2 separate regions of the Homo sapiens genome follow, and region 1 is linked to region 2. The links are contacts of gene promoters, found by promoter capture Hi-C in blood cells and fetal thymus (Javierre and others, 2016). All regions are on one chromosome and are shown on one strand. The core of a region is centred on a gene start or on the middle of the fragment in contact, and the rest is flanking DNA. Distances in the headings are between cores, read along the strand shown. Region 1 overlaps EOLA2-DT (EOLA2 divergent transcript). Region 2 holds the start of MMGT1 (membrane magnesium transporter 1).

The links. The method cuts DNA at HindIII sites, captures the fragments that hold promoters and counts their contacts. A CHiCAGO score of 5 or more calls a contact.
Region 1: a contact is called between a fragment that was not itself captured here and the fragment with the promoter of MMGT1 in region 2, in 1 of 17 cell types (total B cells). The highest score is 5.3, in total B cells.

The regions. Positions count from the first base shown.
Region 1 is chrX:149,946,445-149,952,245 of GRCh38, reverse strand. It overlaps EOLA2-DT (EOLA2 divergent transcript), which reads right to left. Exons shown (of 12, transcript NR_027456.1): 6 at 4,899-5,801; 7 at 3,852-3,940. Among named protein-coding and RNA genes, the nearest start is that of EOLA2-DT, 11 kb to the right of the region's middle. The HindIII fragment of the contact is 1,616 bases long and covers 1,597-3,212 here.
Region 2 is chrX:135,972,160-135,978,454 of GRCh38, reverse strand. MMGT1 (membrane magnesium transporter 1) reads left to right here and starts at 4,467. Exons shown (of 4, transcript NM_173470.3): 1 at 4,467-4,858. The coding sequence starts at 4,780. It also overlaps a transcript of SLC9A6 not described here. RefSeq lists a silencer at 4,269-4,378 and an enhancer at 4,389-4,918. The HindIII fragment of the contact is 2,640 bases long and covers 3,184-5,823 here.

The DNA.
Region 1 (5,801 bases), core at 1,155-3,654, about 14 Mb before region 2:
TAAAACCAAGACTACAGTAGCTCAATGCATAGAAGTTAAAGATAGATAAGGCAATTTTGTAACCTCGCCTTTTACTTTCTGTTTGTTGGCTTTTACATTACTTCAAAATTGTTAAGGAGTAATAAATGCCTGTCCACGTCCATTCCTGTCTGGCCTAGAACATTTAAACTGTCTATAAGTCTTTTGGCTGTAAGTCTCTTGGCCATAGAGATCCTACCAAGGGACAGGATGGACCTGGGGCAGGCAGCCAAACCACCTCCACAATGCTATGGGACAAAATAAAAGTTTGTCCATTGATGTTGCCTCTGGCAAATCCTGGCCAGAAGGAAAGAATGTAAACCAAAAATAAAATTCTAAGCTCCCCAACCACCTGAATGGACCCCTCCTCTTGGCCAAGGGCATTCCAAAGTTAACCTGAAAAACTAGTTCAGGACATGATGAGGAAGGGGGAGTCGGACATGCCTCATTACCATCAACATGAACACTGTCCTTAAGACTGATACAATAGACTCTTTAAGTCTAATAAGAAACATTTACAATCTATTCTCTCTGAAGCCTGCTACCTGGAGGTTTCATCTGCATGATAAAACTGTGGTCTCCACAACTCCTTATCGTAAACCAGACATTCCCTTCTAATGATTCCAGGTCTTTAGATAATAACTCAACCAATTATTAATACCAGTCAGAAAATTTCTGAACCTGCCTATGACCTGGAAGTCCTCCAACTTCCATTTGTCCTGCTTTTCCAGACCAAACGAATGTACATCTCACATGTATCAGTTGATGTCTTATATCTCCCTAAAAACCAAACTGTGGCCTGACCACCTTGGGCATGTCACCAGGACCTTCTTAGGCAGTGTCACAGGCATGTCCTTAGCCTTGGCAAAATAAACTTCTAAATTGATTGAAAAAAATTTTTAGGTTTTCTGATAAGATTGTCTGATTCCAAGGGAGAGGTGTGAGAATTATACATGAAAGCTTTTGTTCCCAATTGGACAGAAGGATGCAAGCGACTTTTGATCACCTGCTCTACCATGAATAGTGCCACGGGCTTCACAACAACCACGAGAGGTATGTATTTTATGTCCACTTTAGAGATGAAGAAGACTCAAGAACAAGAAGATTACTAGTTTCAGTTACAAATATATGATTCCAGCATTTCTAGAATGAAAAACTCAGGAAATATCTGAGAGAGAAAGGTCTATAAAGAGCACTAAATCCAGCCCCTTTATTTTACAAACTGGGAAAATCTGTCCCAGGAGGGAAAGGGACTAGTTCAAGACTACCCAACTACTCAAAGAGAAGGAACTCAAATTTCAATCTCTTGAGTGCCACCCAGTGGACAATGTACCATGACCGATATTTACAGACAAGTTACCAAAAAACTTTACAGAATAGGGGGAAAGAGCACTCATTAAACTGGGAATTGGAAGAACTGGATCCTGTCCCAGTTTTGCCAAGTAAGGTTAGCTTCCCCTCTCTTGGCTTTAATTTCCCCATCTGTGTAATATGAAGTGACAACAGGAAAACCAACATGAGGCAGCAAGTCTTGGATCCAAGACAGAGACAGATCCAGGTTTTGTGGGGCTTGAAGCTTGTAACATCTGGGGCCTTCTTTAAGTATAAGAATGCAAAATTACCAGTATAAAATTGGGAACAAAAGCAAATATTTAAAGTGAGAAAAAAAAAACAAAAGAACACACATTTGAAAACGTTGACAAATGTTAGAAACATCTGAAAATTTAGAAAAAAATAACATAAATAGCTACTTATCTTTAGTACTTAACTGCCTCATGCACTTCTATAGTATGTTATTCCTGCTTTTCTTGTTTGTTATAGTTGGAAACACAGGATTCAGCATATAGTTATAATCACAACCAAGATTTATTACAGCAATGTAGTTAGGGCACACAGCCAGATCACAAGCAGAAAAGACAGGCAAAGTTTGGAGGAGCCCATGCACAGACTTCCTTATGCTCTCTCCCTCCCATGAGGGGCCACACAGAGCACATGCTTCTCTCGGCAACAAATATGCAGTGGCACGTGTGATGTTTCTGGCCAGAGAAGCCCAGACTCATTGCCCACACTTTACACTGGTGTTTGGTAACAGAGACTTCCTCTGCCTAGCATGCACCAAAATTCCAGACTCCCAGAAGGAAAGCAGATATTCAGCATAAACTACGTTTTCTGTATCAACAGTCAAGGCACAGTGAGCCATCTTATCAGTTAACTGTTGACTAGGGAAATTCTGAGAGTCAAGTTTCCAGATGCCAGCAGGGAGCGTAACTTCCAAGCAGGTCTTTCTAAGGGTAGCAGTCACAGGAACTATGACTGTGCCCTTTCTAGCTCAGGACACATTTGATGCTGTGACTGTTTGGGAATTCAGTCCCGACCAATTTAAGAGGTTGTGTTTCTTAGCTGTCTCTGGCTCCTGGTTTGCGCAGTTTAATTCTGTGCCTGCCCAGCAAAACTCTTCTGCATACTACTCAATGTTTCTAGTCCTTCTACAGGTCCATGTCCTACAATCACAGGAATTCTGAAAAATGCCATTTCACAAAATCCCCTTCCAAATGTGCAAATAAATGTATCTTGTATTTACAATTGCGTACACTGCACGCTGGGTATATTTCTGACAAGAGAGCACTTTTGCTTTTCAGTGAAAATGGAATCCTTCACTTACAATTTTACACATCTGATTGATGACTGGAAGATTTTTCCACAGACTAGCTTCTGGTGCTGTACATTGTGAATCTTGGTTCTCCTCCACTGCCAACATACCCCTGATGCCAAGTGCTGCAGGTCACAGTGACATTACAATGTACCCTTCAGCCTCACCCCTCTTGTCCTAACACTGGATGCATCAGCACAGTGAGCAGAAGTATTCCTGCAAGCTATTCCAATAAAGGGCAGCTGGCAAAAACTGGGAAATATATGGAATTGCCTGTGGACTCCTGAAAGATATCTCAAAAATATATCCTAAACTAAATGAATCCCAACTTAATGTCCCCTTAGTTGAATTCTCAATATGACCATGGTCATTGCATTGCTACCCAACACACAGGCAAGAGGGATAGAGACAGCATAGTGGAAAGAAAGATTCCCTGAACCAACTGTGGTTAAAATATCTTTTGTAGATTTTCCAAACCATACAACTGTAGGACCATAATGCTAGGGCTCCTTCCAGGGCTGTTCAAGCAAGAGACACTGAAGCTTTATCTTTAACTTCATTCACTTCACTGTGTACTTGCATCGGGTCTAGAGACTTACAGAAGAGAAACCATGAGAAAAGACATAGGGCCCAGATAATGAGACAGAAGGGAAGAGAGTACACAATCAGAAACAAGGACAAGGAAATTAAGACAAATTCCAGATAAACAAAGTGCAAAATTTACCTGGGAATGTGTGACCTGCATGTGACCTAGCATGGGAGAGGCAGCCTGAAGAGTTATTCTTCCTAAGCTGGGGCACAACACAAGGACAAAAACAACAGAGCTGGCTTTATTCCATGGCTGAGCCAGGAGGACATACCATGAGATTCTGTCGATATTGAGTGGACAGGAAGAGGACTAGTTCAGAGATGTCAGGCTTCTTAGACCACAGACAGAGAGGTTTTGCTAGGCAGGCACAGAATCAAACTGGGCAAACCAGGAGCCAGAGACAGCTAAGAAACACAACCTCTTAAATTGGTCAGGACTGAATTCCCAAACAGTCACAGCATCAAATGTGTCCTGAGCTAGAAAGGGCCTTCTAGTTACCATATTCCACCATTCCACCACCATCTTGTGGTGTAGAGATCAAATCACCATAGTCAGGGTCAAAAAGACTGGTTGAGTCCTGCCTTGATCACTTACAGTACAAGCTGAGGCAAATCACTTCCCCTCTCTGAATTTCAGTGTCCTCATCTCTCGAGTGAAGAGAATGATAATGTGGTCCCAGGAGCCTGTGAAGAATTCAGTGTCACATTAGGATGAGAAAAAGGACCTGGCGAGGCATTCCTGCTGACCCAGAACACAACACAAGAATCTAAGGGCAAGCACGCTGTAAGCTTCAAAGCCTTGCAGGAATGTTACCTTTCCTTTACTACAGAGGAGGCACCAGCAGGGGAACTCTCTTGGCACACAGTTGGAGTCCTCAGAAAATGTTGATTCTCATGGACTCTTCTCTGTCTCTAATGTACAAGCAGTTTCAAGCAGGGGTCTTGTTGGTATTTTAGGGGGAAATTGATGGTATTACTTTGGGATTAATTTGATAAGACTAACGGTCATTTTACAAAGAGAAAGTCATCCCATAAGTAGTATGGCTGGGAAGGGAGAAGGAAGGAGGGCGCAGGGGACCTGAGCAAGCATTGAAATATCTAAACGAGAGGTAAGAAAGCAAGGGCAGTTATGCTGTGATTGAAGATGACACTTGCACCCCTATCATCTCCCCACCAACCTCTGGCCCAGATGACTTACTGGCCACAAGTGAATCAATGAATTCTTCTCAGGAAGAAAACCAGTTTGCCTTTTTAAAATGCTGACAGTGAAACCCAAGTGAGGAAACTCACCTGCTGCACCCAGCGTGCAGCCCACACTCCTTCAGTGGTCCTTTAGGAGTTGGAACCAATCTAGTTTCCCAGCCTCTTCTCTCCCATGACTTCACTCTACGAATGCGTCTGCTCCAGCCACGAACCTTCTCTGGGCTCCTTGAATGTACCTAACCCTTTCAGACTGTCCTTCCCCCATTTCCCACCTAACAAAACCCTTTTGACCTTCAAGGCCCAGCTCAAACACCCCCTCCTCTACGAAGCGTCCCCCAGCCCCCTGCCCAGAGTAGTTCCTTCCTCTTCACATTCACCTAACTCCTCTTGCCTGTAAGATGCCCCCTTACAAGTAACAAAGACATGAGTGTGCACCTACCTTCAAGGAGCCTCTTTCAGGAGGGGGCCTGGCTTCCATCTGCTTTCTGACATACTTTGCATGGAGATCTGCCCTCTCCTGCCAGGCTGTGCTCACACCAATACCAAGAGATCACGAGACGCCCTGCCAGCAAATGCCCTGGAAGCACATCCCCTTCATGCCCCTGGCAGTCATCTAATGTACACACAAGATCAAAGCAGCTCTCAGGTGGCCTGTTGCAGGGCACAGCACAGTTCTGCCTATGCCAAGGCAGATGCTGGGCCCTTCCCTATTGTGTTCAGCACACACCCATTCTCCAGGGCACCTTTTCTGGGCATTAATTTATCCAGTCAGTTAATATGGATTGCACAGCCTGCTATATGCCAGGTACCATGTGGACCCCATCACCCGTACCCAATGCAGGCCCCTCTAGTGGGCAACCCTTGCTCCACACCTCCCTGTTGGGCTGCTCGAGACTGTCAGGTCGGGCTCAACCTGCTCTCCAGCCCTGTTTCCTTCCTATCCCTTTCCTGAGTGTTAGTTAGCCCCAGTAAATCTTTGGCCCTGCCAACTCCCTCTCATGGTCTGCTTCCTGGAGGACACAATCTGAGACAGTGGGTTCCAGAGTGGTCTGAGAAAGCAGGTGGTAAAATGGGGTCTTGGTACAGGATTGCCCCGCATCTGCCCAACTGGCAACAAGGTTCCCATCTTCGGGAGTAGGTGGCACGCAGGCGGCTCCAGGCACAAGATGGCAGGCTAGTTGCCAGACCTTTGGTGTTAGAACTTTTGCTGGGATGGCCGGCTTGTGGAGAGGAAGTTCCTGGCAGGTGAGGAGATCCAGGCAGGGCGGATGCCTGGAAATGAAAACTCAGAGAACAGACAGTGGTGAGTATGTTTCCTGGATGACCCACAGGGGATTAATGA
Region 2 (6,295 bases), core at 3,218-5,717:
GTCTTGAACTCCTGACCTCAAGTGATCTGCCCGCCTCAGCCTCTCAAAGTGCTGGGATTACAAGCGTGAGCCACCGTGCCCAGCTAGGAAGGCTATTTGAAATGAATAATCATATTAACCTCACACAAGTAACCTAGGATACTTTGTGCACATGTGGTAATGAAACCCTAAGAGAGATATTAGTAGATCTGGAAATGGTCCAGAGAAGAGCAATTAAAATAGTCAAAAGAGAGAAGCAATTGATGTTTTAGGAAAGACTAAAAAGGTAAGGAACCTCTTTAGCTTACAAAAATAGCTAGAAGGGTCAATAGCAACAACAACAATGGCTGACATTTACTTAGTGTTTACTATGTGTAAGACTATTCTAATCACTTTATATGTATGATCTCACTCAATGCTGATAACAACCTAGGCAGGTAAACACTATTATTATCCTCATTTCACAGATGAGAAAACTGAGGCGCAGTGAAGTTAAGTAACTTCTCCAATCTCTCAGAGGTAGAAAAGGAAAAGCAAGGATTCAAACCCAAAACTATTCCAGAGCATATGCTTTTAACCACTGTAGTGTAGATCATCCAGCAAGTAAACAAATCTTAAAGATATGAATCATGTAACCACAGTACTGTTTACTCAGATTCAAAACTTAAAATACCAAGGTACCACTTAATGCTTCAAGACAAATACTTTTTTTTATTGTTTGAATTTCTTACAATGAGCTCATACCACTTTGGTAATGAAAAAAAAAAAGTAAACAGGATGCGATTTCAATATTGAAAGTACTAGTTTACTCGGCAGGTAGTAAACTTCTAGAATGTGTTACCCAGAGAGGTTGTACGAAATATAAATAGCTCAAAGAAAGGTTTTGTGCCTACAATAGGTATATATCTCATAAATATCTATAATAGTCAGGAGCATATTCCTAAGGAAAGTGGAATTTTGAACCAGGTGGGAAAGAACAGTGTGCCAGATCGAGGGAGAATCTGCATGGAAAATGGAGACGTGGATAAGCAGTGTGTGAAGATACTCGTGGAGCTGGGTGGCATGTAATAAGTCAATTAGCTTGAAGATGAGTCTGGGATAGCAGTGCTTTCTCTATTCAGTGAACTAGCCTGGGAAACGTGATAAGTCTTCACAAATAACATCTCAGTAGGAAACGCTTTAGAGACCATTATCCCCATCTTTAATAACATCCACATCATTTATCCAAGGTGCATATGGAAAATGGCTCTTTCTTTGGAAAAACAAACAGCACTTCTGGGGTCACTTAGGAATTTAAATGCACTTTCTCATGAGGTTTGACTTTTGTTCTAAGAGCTCATGAAAACAGTGCTACCACTAGCTGTACCTTGCACCTTTGGGATTAACTGCAACTTAAAGAACCATGTATGAGTGAACCCAAGGTACTTATTTGAATGATACAGTCCTTGGTAACTGTGACTATGAATACCTTGGCTTCCCTTCAGGTTGGAATCTACAGAAAAGACAATTAAAATCTCACTCCCTGAACATAATTTAACCATGTATTACTAGAAAATGTGAAACGAGGCTAGTTTCTCTTGCATTCAGTATATGGGTAAAGAGGTAAAAAAAGAGTGAGAAATGCATCTTAAGAGGGCAATAGAGAAAACAAAACTCAATATCTGGACATGGGTGATCTCCCTGAAGACTAGGATAATGCATTGGTGGTTTATACAAATACCAGATTCATTATTGAATTTCTTTTTTCCTATAACTTCATCTTTTTAAAGGAAAAGAACCAGATCTCAGGTCCTATAAGAAAACTCCTAATCATTTTCTGCTTCAGATAAATTGATATTAAAAGGGTTTTTTTCTTTTTTCTTTTTTTTTTTTGGAAATGGAGTTTCACTCTTGTTGCCCAGGCTGGAGTGCAATGGCGTGATCTCGGCTCACTGCAACCTCCGCCTCCTGGGTTCAAGCGATTCTCCTGCCTCAGCCTCCTGAGTAGCTGGAATTACAGGGGCCCACCACCACGCCCGGCAAATTTTTTGTATTTTTAGTAGAGATGGGGTTTCACCATGTTGGCCAGGCTGGTCTGGAAGAAGGGGTAATTTTACAGGGGATCTGAAAAGGCTAATTTCAATCTGACCATTATTTTAGACAAAACAAAGTTGTAAGATTTTTTTGGTCAACTATCTTTTCTACCTTATTACCTCCCAGGGGCGGAGAAGGAAGCACTTTCCTGTCAACTACAGAGAGATTATCTCCTGGTTCTTCCTGATTGTATAAATAGAACTACATTTGTAAGGAATGCATTATACTGCACTTGACATCCATCAAGTATTGTGTAAAATTCTGGCTTAGAGGTGAAGAAATTGGAAAGGGCCCAGAAAAGAATAATGAACATGACTAAAGGTTTGGAAAATGAGATCCAGGACAAAAATTATATAAGTAAAGTTGAGGAAATATGATTAATTTTAGATGTCTTCTTCTACTTTTTTTTTTTTTTTTTTTTGGTTAGAGAAAGGGTCTCGCTCTGTCACTCAGCCTGTAGTGCAGTGGCATAATCATGGCTCACTGTAGCCTTGAACTCCTGGGATCAAGCAATCCTCCTTCTTTAGCTTCCCAAGTAGCTAGGACTACAAGCATGTGCTACTATGCCCAGCTAATGAGATGTCTTATTTGTTTTTCCAGCTTTGAGGAAGCTCAAGCATATCAGAAAATGTTTACAATCAAAAGGTTGTCAAAATGTGAGAGTACATGCAAGTCCATGGGGATTTTTGAGCCCAATTCAAAAGATTGGAAGGACTCTCTGTAGAGATCCTTTCAAATAGGGATACTGTCCCAATTATTTTCCGGAATTCATTTGTCATTCAACAAGCACTTATTGAATGCTTATCACATGACAGTCAAAGTTTTAGGTACAGAGAAATCTCTGTTCTCTCAGAGCTTACATTCCAGTGGGGAAAGACAGACAGTAAACAGTAACACAACAAACATAAATAGTTAAATTATATAGTATGTTAGAAGGTGATATAAAAAGTAGAACAGAATAAGGGGATCAGGAATAGGAATTTTGCACATTTAAAAGGGGTGGTCAGGATAGGACGCATCTTTGAGCAAAAGCAAATTGATGCAACTAAAACGTAGAATTCTGATTGGGTTAAAGGAAAAGAATGGTGATCATACTTTGCATTTACCTTGTGATATGCAGTTTACAAAGCTTTGCCACTCAGTCAGGGGTCACTGGAGGAACTGGTGCAGAATTTGGAAAAAAAGGATGAATTCCATTTTAGCCATATTACGTTTTAAGTGCCACAGGAAATAAATGCCTATCTGGTAGTCAGAAATGCAGCCCTGGAGCTAAGGAGAGATATTTGTGATAGAGATGTCGATTTGGAATCACTGTAATACCTTTGCTGGCTGAAGCGGTGGGAATGAATGGGTGAGCTCCCCAGGGGACAGCAGAGTGATGAGGTCAAGGGGAGAAGCTCACTATTAAATGTCTACATTTCAGGAGATGAAGACAAAGAAAAATGGGCAGAGGAGTATACATTTTACCCGGATCAGAGATAGAGACAAGGCAAGAAGGCTGCGTTATTAGCATTTTAAAATTTCCTCTTTCATTTCTTCCTTAATGTAAGCTGGTTCTTTTCACGACAAAACACTCCCCCCGCGCTACACCTCTTTTTGCGCGAATCTTTCTCCAGGACCTTAAAATGGTTTACTGAGCACTTCCCGCGAGCCAAGTATTTGGGGTTCCAGATCCTGGGATTTTGTCCTGACACTGCCTCCTCGTTTTAACACCCTTGCCTCCTTCTGCAGTGCCAGTTTCCAGGGAGCTGAAGCACAGGAAAGGCCTACAGAAAACAAAAGGCACAGTTTCACAAAAAGCCAAAACCAACCAACCCACAAAACACAACTGTCAGGGGTCTATATCCAGCACCTACCGCCTTTCCCCAACGCCCCCAGCCCCGCCCCTCGGCCCCACCTCCTCCCGCCCCTCGGCCCCACCTCCTCCCCGCCCCCTCGGTCCCACTCCTCCGCGCCCCCTCGGTCCCACCTCCTCCCCGCCCCTCGGTCCCACCTCCTCCCCGCCCCCTCGGCCCTCACCCACTCTCCGTCCCCTCCGCCCCGCCCCCTACGCCCCACCCATCCTCCCGTAGGCCCCGCCCTCGGCCCCACCTCCTCCCCGCCCCTCGGCCCCACCTCCTCCCCGCCCCTCGGCCCCACCTCCTCCCCGCCCCTCGGCCCCACCCATCCTCCCCGCAGGCCCCGCCACTCGACCGCACCCACCAGGGCCCCCCCCCCCCGGCTACGCCCACCCACCCACCCACTGGCCCCGCCCCTCGGCTACACCCACCCTCGTGCGGGCCCCGCGCGTCTTCCCCACCCCGCCCGTCTGCCTACCCCGCCCCTCGCCCCCACACGTTCTCTACGCAGGCCCCCGTCCCTCTGCCCCACCCTGTTCTCGCCACTGGCCCTGCCCCCATTTGCCGGCGCCCTTCCTCTTCGCTTCCCCGTAGCTCCCGCTTTCGCCTCTTCGTTTATGACTCCGTTGGGCTCCGGCCCTCCTAGAGAGGCCTCCATAGCGCAGGTTCGTGGGTTCTCGCGGACCTTTTTCCGTGTAGCTTTCTGCTTCTTCCCGGCATTCCTGTTTCCGTTTTCTCACAGCCCTCTGGCTTTTCCACCACTGAGACACTTTGCGCTCAGGACTTCAGTGACGTCATCTTTCTGCGGCGCGCGGACACCCGCCGGTGGAAGAAGAAACAGCTCCGCCGTCCTTCGCTTCTTTTGCTGGGCTGCTGCTCCTTCGGCATCATGGCGCCGTCGCTGTGGAAGGGGCTGGTGGGCATCGGTCTCTTTGCCCTAGCCCACGCCGCCTTTTCCGCTGCGCAGCGTAAGTGCCTGGGGCACGGGGACCGCTTCGGTGTGGAACCCTAGGGGCGGTGTGTGGGCGCACTTCTAAGGGACCATCGGACCGAGTGTCAGATTAATGGTCCTTTGAGACCTTACAGTTTGGGGTGACTAAGAAAATCAGTGCAGGAGTTCCCAGTGGAAGGTTCGGAGTTTGAATTTGGAGAGAGTGTGGCACCTGAAATTGCAGGAAGGTTGGAAGGAGGTGTCTGGGAGAGGGTTCAGAATAGGAGTCTCCAGGAATCCAGGACAAGTGATGTCAGATCCAGCATGGGGCAGATCAGGCACAGTTGTGAGATTGAGGACTCTGGTTGCTCATGGTCCCACGACAACCAAGTGGACAACATCTTGGGCACTCTTGGGCTGTCCAGGCAGAGACTGAGTAGTTAAGTGACCGATTGCCTCAGGGAGGCACTGTGGTACAGGAGAAAGAGCACTGGACTGGGAGTCTAAAGGACTGGTTGTTAAAAACTTGCATTACCGCTACATCTGTGTGACGTTGGGCAAAAGATTTGTGCTACACTGCGTTATGAAATTCAGTTTTGGGTCGCTGTTTGAAATTGCGCTGTGTTTAGGTGCTAGAGATACAGTGATGCCCTGAGCCAGTTCAAAGTCTAAAGGAAAACAAGTGGATCAAGAAGTAGTTACAATAAAGTGATATGCTAAAAGTATATAAGGATGCATGGAAGCAGGGACAGTCATATTTTGGGGGAACTGGGAGGTTAAGGAAAGTATCCTAGATCCTTGCTGCTTACAGTGTGATCAACAGACCAGCATCATGAGCACCACCTGGCAGGTAATTAGAAGATACTCAGGCCAGACCTGTTCAATCAGAATCTGGGTTTTAATAAGATCCCAGGGTGATTTGTATGCGCATTAGTTTGAGAAACACTGTCCTGGAAGAGATTAGGATACACTGGAGTACTGTGTCATTTTCTACAGTAAGCTTTAACTGTAGAATTATATGATTGTGGGGCGAGAAGGGCCTTTGGAGTTCACTGAAGTCCAACCCCTTCATTTTACAGATGAGGAAATTCCTGGTTAAAGGTAGTGTTAGAAGCAGGCGAGGCTTCATGCAAACTAGCAAGCTAGCTAGGAATTGAACCAGATAGGAGATTAGTCAAAATCGATTTTTGGTGTTGGTTTGATGTTTCTTTTACACTTGTCTTTATGACAGAGCTGTAGGTTAAAACTTAAGAAATGTCTCTAAACACATTCTTCTTCAAGAGTCAATACACATGCACTCAAAAACAGTTTGAATTATTTAGTCCAAAGTACGTTATTAAATAGGGATTGTCCTAGGTTCATCTAGAATTAAGATTTTTGTATTTTATGTTTTGGGTGATGAGAATGCCTTGTGGATTTGCCACTGCAGTGAGACCTCTTTATATATAATGCTCATGTTAGGGAGAGAGTAATA